Linked DNA regions of Homo sapiens: all the other regions are linked to region 2. The links are contacts of gene promoters, found by promoter capture Hi-C in human tissues and cell types (Jung and others, 2019). All regions are on one chromosome and are shown on one strand. The core of a region is centred on a gene start or on the middle of the fragment in contact, and the rest is flanking DNA. Distances in the headings are between cores, read along the strand shown.

Region 1 (4,268 bases), core at 281-2,780, 710 kb after region 2:
GATTACAGGCGTGAGCCACCGCGCCCGGCCAGCTCTCAGCTTTTCTGTGTCCCATTCTCAAATATAAATGAACTTAAGAGTATTCAAATAACAACAACAAAAACATCAGGAAAATAAAAATTAGACGGCAGAAATGAAAATCTCAATAGTAAAGTAGAGGGTATAGTTAGGGAATCCAAAACCAGAGCAAAGTGGCAAATAATTGGACAATAAGAGAGAAAACATAAGAAATTAGATGCTCAATCCAGGAAGCCTGACAACTAATTAATAGGAGTGCCAGAAAGAGAACAGAAAAGACTGGTGGAGAAAAGTATTAATAAAATAACGTAAGAGAATTTTTCAGAGCTGAAGAACATGAGCCTTTTCTCAAAAAGAACTTTTTGGTATCTAGCCCAATGAGTAAAAGACAAATGAACAAACAAACAAATATCCCACAAGGCCAGGCACGATGGCTCACGCCTGTAATCCCAGCACTTTGGGAAGCCAAGGCAGGAGGATTGCTTGAGCACAGGAGTTCGAGACCAGCCTGGGCAACATAGTGAAACCCTGTCTCTACAAAAAATACAAAAACTTAGCTAGGCGTGGTGGCACATTCCTGTAGTCCCAGCTACCCGGGAGGCTGAGGTAGACGAATCACCTGAGCCCAAGAGATCGAAGCTGCCATGGGCCATCCTCATGCCACTGCACTCCAGCCTTGGTGACAGAGTGAGACGCCGTCTCAAAAAAAAAAAAAAAAAAAAAATTCCCATCAAATAACATAAACCAGTGACAACAAAGGACTTATTATTACAAAATTTCAAACCCTAGGGATAAACAGAAGTCTCTAAAAGCTCTGGTAGGAGTGGAGAAATAGAGTGGAGACAGAAAACTAATGAATAGAAGATTGTGAATAAGAATGGCATCAAACTTCTCATGGAAATAGAAGGTAGAAGATAATGGAGATATACCTTCAAATTTCCAAGGGAAAGTTATTTTTTGTTTAACCAAGAATTACATATTTAGCCAAATTTGCTATCAAGTAAAAGGGTAGAAAAGAGACATTTTTACACATACAAGTCTTCAAAAAATGTACCTCCTGTGAAATTAAATAATTCAAACTTAAAGCTGTTGGACATTTGAATTATTCTGAGCTTCAAGTGGAGGGTGGCTATGTAGTCTGAGTCACGCAGCATGCAGCTGCAACTTCTGCCTTGTTTTCTTGTAAATGATTAAGAAGACCAAATGGCCTCAGACATGAGACCCCCTCAGATCACTACCTCCCTCATGGAGCAATAGAGTAATCTTCCTTGGGATGTAGCAATCTGTAACCAATCAAATTGCTCTCATATACGGAACGGTCTTGTAAGGAAAATGCTGTAATCTGCTAAAATTTCTCTGTTTCTGCCTATATAAGTGAAACCTTAACTTTTTTTTTTTTTTTTTTTTTGAGACAGAGTCTTGCTCTGTCGCCAGGCTGGATGGAGTTCAGTGGCGCGATCTTAGCTCACTGCAACCTCCACCTCCCAGGTTCAAGTGATTCTCCTGCCTCAGCCTCCCAAGTAGCTGGGACTACTAGTGCATGCCACCACACTAGGCTAATTTTTGTATTTTTAGTAGAGATGGGCTTTCACCATGTTGGACAGGATGGTCTCGATCTCTTGACCTCATGATCCACCCGCCTCGGCGTCCCAAAGTGCTGGGATTACAGGCTTGAGCCACCGCGCCTGGCCTGAAACCTTAACTTCTCCACTTTGGAATTCTGACCTTGTTTGTTTGTAGTCACTGGTTCCCGTGCGGCCATCCTCAAGGCTTGTGTTTGAATAGACTATGTACAAATTTATATTTTCTGTATCTCATTACTTAAGGTTGACATTTTGGCGACCATGATGGGACTTGAAGCAGAACTTCAGCAATCCTCATCGCTTTGTCAACAACTTGAGCCTTGGTACCAGCACAAATGATTTTCATTTTCCTGACTTCACAGGCTATGCAAATCTCTGGTAAGGCCCCTTTCAAGTTTGAGTTCTCCTGGATTGGTTGAGGATGCAGACTTTATTTGCATTACACACATTCCTAACTCAATGGGGTTGGAACTGAAGTTCTACAACAAGGTAGGAGTTTGGTTTGTTATTCTCTAGAGATTCTGATAATTGCAGATTTGTGATTTTCACTTTTCTCTGAGCTTAAGGTTTTATTTGGAACTACTGCTTGGAGTTTTCCAACCTTTTCTCTTGTACCAAATTTTGGTTAGGGAGAAAACAGTTTCTCTCTGAAAAGAGGAAGTGAATCTCTGTGGCTTAAGCGAAAATTTTATAAACTTTAGAGCTGGTCAGATTCTGAAGCTTGGTTCAATTGACAAATCTAAGCTTTTTTTTTTTTTTTTGAGTGACAATATTACAAAAGGCTCTCTATGAGGACAAGATAAGTCCTGAGGATAAGAGACATTGTCTTTCCCAGCCAAAAGGCACCTTTAGTGAGTAAGGTCTTGAGGGAGTGTTGGAGCTTATCGCTCATGACATAAACTGTTCTAAAGGGAATCCCTTCAGAAGAATATATGGGGAACTTTGCTTAATCCTGTGAGCACACATACAAGTTGATCACCTAGTGCCTTAAGCACTCAAGTCTCTTGGGACCACCAAGACACATAAACGAGAAGAACTGACTCCAGGGTGATACTTTGAAGAGCTATTCCCACAATCAGCACACTCAATCCAAAACACCTCCCACTAGGTCTTTTTGGTCATTCAAAAGTAAAGTCTAAATTCTGAGCAATCATACTTCTAAAACTGAGTCTTCTTCCTTATGGAGAGATCCACCCTTAGAAACATCAGCTAGATTCATTTTTAATATTTATGGCACTTTTATATGCAAATATTTAGAAAAATGGTCTCACATAACTCACAATGACCAAATGAGCCAAATTATAATGGCCAAATGGGGGTAACTTTTAAGTACCTAACCTAGTTTGCACACTCAATTAGAAAAAGCTGGCACTAAAATAAAATAAAGCAACTGGCAGATTGATTTTCAGTGGTACTTGGAAGCTTCAAAAGAGGTTCTGATAAAATCATTTCTTTGCAAGAAGAAAACAAAAGTGCCTAAAACAATTTTTTTTTTTTGAGACGGAGTCTCGCTCTGTTGCCCAGACTGGAGTGCAGTGGCGTGATCTCTGCTCACTGCAAACAAACTCTGCCTCCCGGGTTCCCGCCATTCTCCTGCCTCAGCCTCCCAAGTAGCTGGGACTACAGGTGCCCGCCACCGCGCCCGGCTAAATTTTTTGTATTTTTTAGTAGAGATGGGGTTTCACCGTGTTAGCCAGGATAGTCTCGATCTCCTGACCTTGTGATCAGCCCGCCTCGGCCTCCCAAAGTGCTGGGATTATAGGCGTGAGCCACCGCACCCGGCCCTAAAACAATTTTTAAATTGAAAAAGACTGCTGAAATTTCTCCTTCTTCAGCTCTTCTTTCTCTTTTGTCAAAACTTCTTTGTTTGGACTTACCTTCCCTCTCTCCTCACCCCTCCCTCCCTCCTTCCCTCTTCCTTTCCTCCTTTCCTCCTTTCCTCCCTTCCTCCCTTCCTTCCTTCCTTCACCTCTGCCTCCTCCTTCTGCTGTTCTGACTCCATTTTGGGAATACCCTATGTCTAGTAGAGGAGAATCTGCCTTGGTTTAAAGAATTCCTGGATCCTCTTCAGGACCGCTACTGGATTTGCTAGAGAATTTGTTTTGTTTTTGAGACAGGGTCTTGCTGTGTCACTCAGGCTGGAGTGCAGTGGTGTAATCTCGCTTCACTGCAACCTCCACCTCCTGGGCTCAAATGATCCTCCCACCTCAACCTACCAAGTAGCTGGGATTACAGGCATGCACCACGATGCCTGGTTAATTTGCTAGAGAATTTGTATATGTGCTGCCGAAGTGAGCACAATTTGCTAGAGAATTTGAATTAAACATTCACACTTATAATCCTAGATTTTCTGATTTATTTCAGTTGGTTCACATTTAGTGTTACAAAGTAAAGCCAGGCTGGGCATGTGGCTCACGCCTGTAATCCCAGCACTTTGGGAGGCTGAGGCAGGTGGTTCACGAGGTCAGGAGATCGAGACCATCCTGGCTAACATGATGAAACCCTGTCTCTACTAAAAATACAAAAAATTAGCCGGGCGTGGTCGTGGACGCCTGTAGTCTCAGCTACTCAGGAGGCTGAGGCAGGAGAATGGTGTGAACCTGGGAGGCAGAGCTTCCAGTGAGCAGAGATCGCTCCACTGCACTCCAGCCTGGGTGACAAAGCAAG
Region 2 (4,397 bases), core at 1,457-3,956:
AGTGAGCCTCCTACTTTGGCCTTTAAAAGTGCTGGGATTACAGGTGTGAGCTACTGCACCCTGCCTGGGGCTAGGGTATTTAAGGGTTTTGAAGTGGACCAAAGTGTGGAGATCATCAATTGGTTGAAAAGTGCAGGGTAAAGTCATGAGACAGAGAGATGAAGAAATTGTATTCTCGCACTGATTCGGTTCCTGTGTGTGTGTGGGTGTGTGTGTGTGTGTGTGTGTGTGTGTGTTGGGGCGGGGGCGGTCTTTAAACTGGTTGATGTCGGCTGTTCTGCTGGAACGTAGGATCTGCCTAAGCAATTCTTAAATAAAACCCTTATGATTCCAGAGCCAGAAATCCTACCTATTGAAACAACAGGGATGCAAATGGTCAGTACCTAGTGTTACCTGAAGTTATTAATACAAAGAAGCAGGCCGAACTGCAGCCTGATTAATGCTTAGTTATAACTCTATTTTTGTGCAGAATTCTTCTCAACCTTGTAAGGATGGCCTCAACTTGGACTCCCCAAATAGAATTGACCACACTTTCATTGTGCTCCTTTCTAATTTGTATAATTATAATGTTAAGAACTTGGGATTTCGAATGAGACAAACCCGGGTTGAAATCCCAGCTCTCTCAGTGACTAGTTGTGAGACCTGGGCAAATTACTTGCATCTCTGTTTTGTCACCTGGAAACTGGGATAAGGAAACTCAGAGGCGGCTGCAGCACAGCTATACCAAATATTGGCTTACAGGTGGCAATCTAGCTGGAAACGGAGCTGCAGGACTTGCGTTGAAACTATGTTTGCAAAAGCAAGCACATTTGTTTTCACTAAGATTTTATATTTACTTGGAGTGTATTTGGGAAGGGGGAGCACATGGAGATTAAGAGGGTAAAAATCAAGGTCACCAATGAGAGTACTTAGCACAGTGCCTGACGCCTAAAAAATTAACTGCAAATATTTATGTTTTTTTCCACTAGATTGAATTTCTTAAGAGCTGGATTCTATCTTATTTATCTGCAACTAACAACGCTTGGCACCAAATGTAGAACTGAAATGAATTTTCTTTGCAATCTTGACTAAAAAATGAGGGTTTTATCAATAACTTCGTAGAGTAAATAGAAGTCTCTTAAGGGCTCTTGATATTCTTCCTGTTGGAAACACAAAGAAGGGAAAGGTTTGGAAAAATGAAGTTGACAAAGTCTTTTATTATCAAACGCTCAAACTTATTCCTCACTGCCTTGTTAACACTTGATTTGACACTTTTTTTTTTCTGTTTGAGACACAGTCTTGCTCTGCCACCCAGGCTGGAGTGCAGTGGCGCGATCCTGGCTCACTGCAACCTTGGTTCAAGCGATTCTCGTGCCTCAGCCTCCCGAGTAGCTGGGATTACAGGCGCCCGCCACCACACCAGGCTAATTTTTGTATTTTTAGTAGAGATAGGGTTTCTCCATGTTGGCCAGGCTGGTCTCAAACTCCTGACTTCAGATGATCCACCCGCCTCGGCCTCCCAAAGTGCTGGGATTAGAGGCGTGAGTCATCGTTTGTCTCATTTTTGTTTACATTTAAAATAATAAACCTTGAGGTCGGGCGCGGTGGCTCACGCCTGTAATCCCAGCACTTCGGGAGGCCGAAGCGGGTGGATCATCTGAAGTCAGGAGTTTGAGACCAGCCTGGCCAACATGGTGAAACCCCCGTCTCCATTAAAAATACAAAAATTAGCGGCATGGCGCGGTGGCTCATGCCTCTAATCCCAACACTTTGGGAGGCTGAGGCGGGCGGATCACGAGGTTAGGGGTTTGAGACTAGCCTGGCCAACATGGTGAAACCCCGTCTCTACTAAAAATACAAAAATTAGCCGGGTGTGATGGCAGGCGCCTATAATCCCAGCTACTCGGGAGGCTGAGGCAGGAGAATCGCTTGAACCTGGGAGGCAGAGGTTGCAGTGAGCCTATACTACGCCATTGCACTCAAGCCTGGGCGACAGAACGACACACACACACACACACACACACACACACAAAATTAGCTGGATATAGTGGCGGGCGCCTGTAATCCCAGCTACTCAGGAGGCTGAGGCAAGAGAATCGCTTGAACCTGGGAGACGGAGGTTGCAATGAGCAGAGATCGCGCCATTGCACTCCAGCCTGGGCGACAAGAGCAAAACTCCGTCTCAAAAGTAAATAATAATAAAATAAAAAACCTTGAACGTCATCGCTGTAAGTTGGGAACTCCTATAGCAAGATTCCATACATCCCATTTTTGGACGTTTTATTCCAAAGACACAAGCAAACGGAAGAAAACGACTGCCGTGAACCCCTGCTAACGACAACTTGGTGACTGCAGGATCATTGGACGACGGTTTTATCCTCGCCATCCAATCGTTGGAAAGTCCGGAGAGAACGCTCTCTGGATTGGTTGGAGGAAACATCTCTCCAAGTGCACTCAAGAATGGGTTGGGAGCGGGGTTCGGCCGGCAGCGCCTCGGGCCAATCAGAGAAAGCATGAGGGCGGGCTCTGCCGCAGGAAGGTGGTGAATCTCGGCGGGTCAAACTCTCCTGACGTGATGGGGGGGCGTGGCCTCCAGTTGCGGTCTCCCGGCTCTCTGGGCCCGCGCACGGGATGGGCGGGGCCCACGGGCCTGGGCGGGGCGAGCGGTGTCAGCGGCGGAGCCGGATGCGGGCGGCATCGCGGCGGTCGCGGCCTTGGGGATGGGCGGAGCCCCAGCCGCTAGTGCTGGTGGCCGCCGCTGCTGCCCCAGCTGGAGCCCGAGCCGCCGCCTCTGCGTCCGCGCGTCGCTGCTTCCCAGGGCGGCGGTATGCTGGGGAAAGGAGTAGTCGGCGGTGGCGGCGGCACCAAGGCCCCCAAGCCCTCCTTCGTGTCGTACGTACGCCCTGAGGTGAGGGGGCGCCGCGCAGGCGGGGCGTCGGGCAGGGGCGGCCGGGGCGAGGGGCGCCGGGAGCCCCTTCCTTGCAGCGGGGAGCGCCGCGGAGCGCTTCCTGCCCTTGTGCCGGGCGACGGGGCAGCCAGGCGGGCTGAGGCCGCAGGAGCGCGCTGGGGCCTCCGCGCGGGCCGGAATGGGGACCCCGGCGCAGGCAGGCAGGTGCCTGAGCGCAGGGCCCGAGCGCTGGAGGCTGGTGGAGGGGCCCGAGCCGAGAAGGGATTGCGGCCCGGAACGCCCCTGGGGATTCTGGAGAGGACCTGGGGTTGTGGGCACTGCTGGGAGGGGTAGGGCCGTGGGTCGGAGCCCCCAACGGGGCCTGCTCGGAGCCCGCGTGGGTCCGTCCTGCCTCTGGACTTTCTCAGTGAGCCCAGAAGCCCGCCGGCCTCCGCTGCCTGCGTCTGAGTGCCTCGGGTGCGGCTGGCGGGATGCCCTGCACCTACGTCCGCCTCCCGTCAGCGCTGCGGGGAGAAAAGGGGGTCGGCCTGGCCTCAGCCAGTCTCTGCTTGTCTCTCCCTTGGGAATTCTCCGCTGTCGCTTCTTTCTCCTCATCCCCTCACCATCATCCTTTCCACCCACTTCTTACTCTTCTGAATCTTCAGGTCAAGAAATTTGTTCATTCATTCAGAAAATACTTCTCGAGCTCCTACTGTGTGTCAGGCACTAAGTGCTTGTGATAGACATCAGTGAACAGGACAGAGATCTCTGCATTCCTGGAGCTTATTTGAGGGGGAAAGGAGAAACGGGGTGAATTATAGATAATTAAGTAAATTATACGGTGTAGTAGGAGGTGATAAATATCATGGGAAAGAAAAGAAATCTTTTTCCTCCTCGCAAAGGTGGCATTTGAGCCGAGACTTGAAGATACGAGAGGTCTGAGAGAAGAGTCGTCCAGGTAGAGGGAACAGCCCCCGGGAAGGTCGTGAGGTGGGAGTGTGTCTGAAGGGTTGGCGGAGCGTCAAGGAAGCCAGCATGGCAGAGGCCCATGGACAAGGGGGACAGTCATAGGAGAGGAGGTTAGAGAGATCAGAACTTGTAGGCCTTGCTCAGGGCTTCTTGAGCAATAGTTCTTAATCCAAATGCCTAATGAGAAGCCTTCTTGTTTTGCATCTGTAAAGGTTTTTTTCTGCCCTTCTCTCCAGCAGAAGTGCAGAAGCACCGCCAAATTTGTTGCAGATGTCTTCCCACCTCTGTAATGCAGAAGCACGTGGGCTGTGGATGAGAGATCTGATCAGGGACTGCTTCCGTAAAGACCACCTGGGGCCTGAGGCATTTGCATATGTATCTTTAAATTCAAGATATGTGTGTTTTCTCCAGGGGAAAGTGCTCTTAAAATGGGTCTTATTTTTAGTCCTAGTTGTAAAATACAAACCATTTCCTCTGTTAGCACTTGATGTGGAGTCAGGGTCATCTTAAAGTTTCAGCGGGCTTCCCTTGTGGTATCACATTTAAGCAATGTGGTCAATTT
Region 3 (4,481 bases), core at 1,706-4,205, 730 kb after region 2:
TGAAGAAAAATATTACAATTTGCATTCAAATTCCTTCCTTATCTTTTTTAAAGAGGAAAGGCAGCATTAATTTTAGGTCTCATTATATTTACCATCCAAGAGTTTGCAAATGGAAATTATATCGAAATGATAAATGTAATTCTGTTTATGCTTTTCCTGGATTAAACATATATGCACATACACATATATATATTTTTTATTTCTTTGAGATGGAGTCTCGCTCTGGTGCCCAGGCTGGAGTGCAGTGGCGCGATCTTGGCTCACTGCAACCTCCACCTCCTGGGTTCAAGCAATTCTTGTGCCTCAGCCTCCTGAGAAGCTGGGATTACAGGCACCGTGCCTGGCTAATTTTTGTATTTTTAGTAGAGACGGGGCTTCTCCACATTGGCCAGGCTGGCCTTGAACTCCTGACTTCAGGTGGTCTGCCTGCCTCAGCCTCCCAAAGTGCTGGGATTTCAGGTGTGAGCCATCACACCTGGCCACACACCCATATTTAAATGTTAAGAAATCAGCAGCAGTTATTTTACCCATCTGCAGTCTGAGTCTGATGATACGACAGCCTTCTCTCCCTCCCCTTTCCCTTTCCCTTCCTTTCCTTTCCTTTCCTTTCCTTCCTCCTTTCCTTTTTCCTTTTTCCTTTCTCCTCTCCTCTCTTTTCCTCCTATTTATTCCCAATATTGGCTTGGTACTGGGAATATAAAAAAGGATAAAGTATTACCCTTTATCTACAGAAATTATAATCTGGTGCCACTGTACACACTGTACACAACTAAATATAAAACAATTTGAACACAGCGAGAACTGATTCCTATGAAGGAATCAGAATTTACAAGATATCTGGAGACAGAGTACATTGCGTTGGGGCTCAGAACGTACCACACCAAATATGACTGTAAGAGACCAGAATATGCCACCCCAAAATATGCCTCCTTGGCATGTTGCTTATTTTGAGCTGGTTATTTTGAGAAAGTGCAGACACAGGAGTATTTCTGAAAAGTTACCCTTTAAAAAAAAAATTTACATCTTTAAAGGCAGTCTCCATTTGTAACAGTGTCTCTCTCTGCACCAGGGAAAAAGGAAGAGTAAATCAGTAGAGACTCATAACCAATGGAGAAGGCTTACATTTAAATCTGCACAAAAAACCTTACCTTCGTTTTATGGTGTTTTCCAGACCTTTCCCCAAACCCTTCTTTCTTTTTTTCCCGGAATGATGATATTTAAGCTTGAAGTTTAAATGCTTCTTTTGAGATCCACTCTAAATATTGACACATTTCTCAGAGTTTCCTCCCAAATATACATGAGGCATATACGGTAATAAACTGTTTGTTTTTCTCATGTTAATCTCTCTTTTGTTAGAGGTAGTCCCAATTAAGACCTATTAAGGGTAGAGAGAAAATTATTTTTCCATCCCTGCAACTGGGAAGAAGTCTCTGAAGCGGACACTTTTTCACTTTGGCTTGGAGGGCGTGACAGGCAACAGGAGAGGGCTTAATGCAGAGGGGCACAAAGTACCCCAGGGCACAGGTAGGTACTGTGCAAGCCCCTGCATCCAGGGAGGTGGGTGACTTCTGGTCCACTGTGGACCTGACCACACTCTCCCCCAAGATCACTCACAGACACTGGGAGGAGAGTAGGAAGCCTAGGGGTGTTGGGTTAGAACTGGAAACACCTGGGTCGGGGGCAGGGCGGACTGCACGTAATCATGTAATGAGGAATGGCTGTTCATTTCTAGCATAAAAGAGAATGCATTGCAAGCACATTTAAAGAAATGAGTGCTCTATGAATAGTGCTAAATTAAAAATTCTTGGACAAAAGGATGTTCTTCAAGTTCCAGATTATTCAGAAACAAATTTATATGTGCAAACTGGACATGAGCTATTCTTTCATTCAACTGTTATTTATCGGGTGCAGGCTATGGGATGCTGTCAGCATTCAAGGCACTGGGAACCAAAAAAGTTCTTACCCTTGTGTCATATTCTAGTGACACCTATTCAGTTTTAGTTCATCTTTCTAGATTAAAAACACACACACACACACACAACAATTGTCAGAAACCAACTTAAAGATTTGTCAAGACTAATTTAAGTGACTGACCAACAATAGTCAAAAAACTTAGATGCATATGTAATGGGATGTTTTTTAACATTCTTCTTATTAAAAGAAAATTGCATCATTGCCTTTATAGTAATATGTTAAGATCATAAAACTGAAAAGCGCTCCTTTGATAAATCTGGTAGTCTAGGGCCACCTGGTGTCCAAACTATTTAATTACGTTATTTAGCAAAGAAAAAAGAATACTTTTTTTTTTTCTGGTATGATTCCACTTATGGGATGTCCAGACAGGCAAATCCATAGAAACAGAAAGCAGGACAGTGCTTTACTCTTTTAAACTTGAAATTCCCTAATTAAAAGAAGATATTCCCACAATTAAAGATTAGAACTTAAAATATATTAGCCAGGTGTGGTGGCATGCACCTGTTAAGGAACAAAGATTCTGTATTAGTTTCCTATTGCTGCTGTAAAAAATTATCACTAACTTGGTGGTTTAATGCAATACAAGTTTATTACTTTACAATTCTAGGGTCATATGTTCATAATGGGTCTCTAAAATCAAGGTGTCAGCAGGGCTCTGTTCCTTCTAAAGGCCGTAGAGGAGGATCCATGTCTTTCCCCTTTCTACCATCTAGAGGCTGCCTGAATTCTTTGGCGGGCAGTCCCCTACTGTCTTCAGAGCCAGTGATGACTGCTGAGTCTTTTCCATGATGCACCCCCTCTGACGCTACCTCTGGGCCCACCTGGATGATCCAGGCTACTCTCCCCATCTCAAAGTCAGTGGATTTTTTTTCTTTTAACAGAGATGGGGGTCTTGCTGTGTTGCCAGGTTGGTCTCAAACTCCTGAGCTCAAGCAATCCTCCCTCCTTGGCCTCCCAGAGTGCTGGGATTATAGGCATAAGCCACTGCACCTGGTCGTCAGTGGATTTCTTAGTTGCATCTGCAAACTTAATTCTCCCTTGCCCTATAACATAACCTATTCACAGGTTTTGGAGATTTGGATGAGGCCCTCTTTGGGGAAAAGACATTTTTTGCCTATCATAGAGTCCATTAGTTTTTTCTGGAGGCAAATATGCTACTTTTTAAGTTTCAGTTAAATGGGAAAGACATTAAACTGTTTCTCTGTCCCTATTTGTAACTTGGAATCGATGAACAGGAAGAGAAACATTGCTTCTGCCAATGCCTGTAAAATTAACCAAGGGTTTAAAAATCCCCACAGTGAATTTTTATTTATGCTTTCTTTACTAATCTTAGCTAGAAAAACCCAAACTAAATATTAAAAAATGTTGATCTTAAATTAATTCAAGTTGACAAAGACAGGTGTAAGCCCAAATACTGCTTGATAGTACACGAAACATACAAGTAGAAGGTTTTGTTTGTTTGTTTGTTTGTTTACTGGGCAAAATGGTTTTATCTGCAAACTAGTTAGAATGAAGCTCACAAAAATGGAAAAATAGGGACCTCTGAAGGGGATAAAGAAGGAGAAAAGAGGAAGATAACGGGGGTCTGTTTTTTACCTGTACCTCTTCATCACAGTAGCAGGTGAACACCCTGCATATATTGGTCATTGGCCAGCAAGAGCAAGAGTGACCCTCCATACCCAGGAGATTTGAATGGGTTGCTCCTGAAGTGGCCTTCAGAGTGAGGATGATAAACACTGTCCTTCTCTTTTCTGTGAATGTAGGCAGTGTATGCCCATCTAACTTCAATGGAAAATCAGCCAGAAAAAGCGCTTGGATTTTCAATAGTGCTGCCCTGCCTTTTCTGGAATGTCATATATAAGGGGCTATGGTAAGGGGACATCAGTATTATCTAGGTAGAATGAGAAAAAAGAGAATTGAATTATTCAAAGTAATTGAATCATTTTAGAATATTCAACTATTAATAATAATTGAGTATTCAATTATTTCTGTTATAAAAATGCTTTAGCAACTGTTAATAGTGCTGATAGTAGTAAAGAGAGTCTTTCCAGGACCTATGTAAGGCTTTTCTCCAGTTTGAGGAAGCCTTCATGAAAACATTACCTCCAAGAACCTCCTTAAAGTTATGTATTAATTAAAATTTAATAATTTTAATTAATAAATTTAGTAATTAACAATAAGTATAACAATAATTATTTAAAATAATTTAATTAAATATTTAATAATTAAAATTATTAAAGTATTTTAATAAATAGCAGTCATTAAATTGCTAGCTTAAGTCTTGGCAGTATGTGTTATATAGTTTTCATTGTAGAGGTTTTACATGTCTTTTGTTAAAGTTTTTCCTAAGTATTTCGTAAATTTTAATGCTTTTAAAAATGGTAATGCCGGCTGGGCGTGGTGGCTTACACCTGTAATCCCAGCACTTTTGGGAGGCTGAAGCGGGTGGATCACAAGCTCAGGAGATCGAGACCATCCTGGCTAACACGGTGAAACCCCATCTCTAC

What was found. The method cuts DNA at HindIII sites, captures the fragments that hold promoters and counts their contacts. A contact is called where the count stands out against the background at its distance.
Region 1: a contact is called between a fragment that was not itself captured here and the fragment with the promoter of MTMR12 in region 2, in 1 of the 25 tissues and cell types used here (dorsolateral prefrontal cortex).
Region 3: a fragment that was not itself captured here is called in contact with the fragment with the promoter of MTMR12 in region 2 in 1 of the 25 tissues and cell types used here (dorsolateral prefrontal cortex).

What each region holds. Positions count from the first base shown.
Region 1 is chr5:31,597,138-31,601,405 of GRCh38, reverse strand. No RefSeq gene overlaps it. Among named protein-coding and RNA genes, the nearest start is that of PDZD2, 40 kb to the left of the region's middle. The HindIII fragment of the contact is 4,528 bases long and covers 1-3,794 here.
Region 2 is chr5:32,311,248-32,315,644 of GRCh38, reverse strand. MTMR12 (myotubularin related protein 12) reads left to right here and starts at 2,706. Exons shown (of 16, transcript NM_001040446.3): 1 at 2,706-2,887. The coding sequence starts at 2,807. RefSeq lists an enhancer at 2,238-2,287 and silencers at 2,378-3,167, 3,238-3,377. The HindIII fragment of the contact is 13,800 bases long and covers 1-4,397 here.
Region 3 is chr5:31,579,447-31,583,927 of GRCh38, reverse strand. No RefSeq gene overlaps it. Among named protein-coding and RNA genes, the nearest start is that of C5orf22, 49 kb to the right of the region's middle. The HindIII fragment of the contact is 9,056 bases long and covers 1-4,481 here.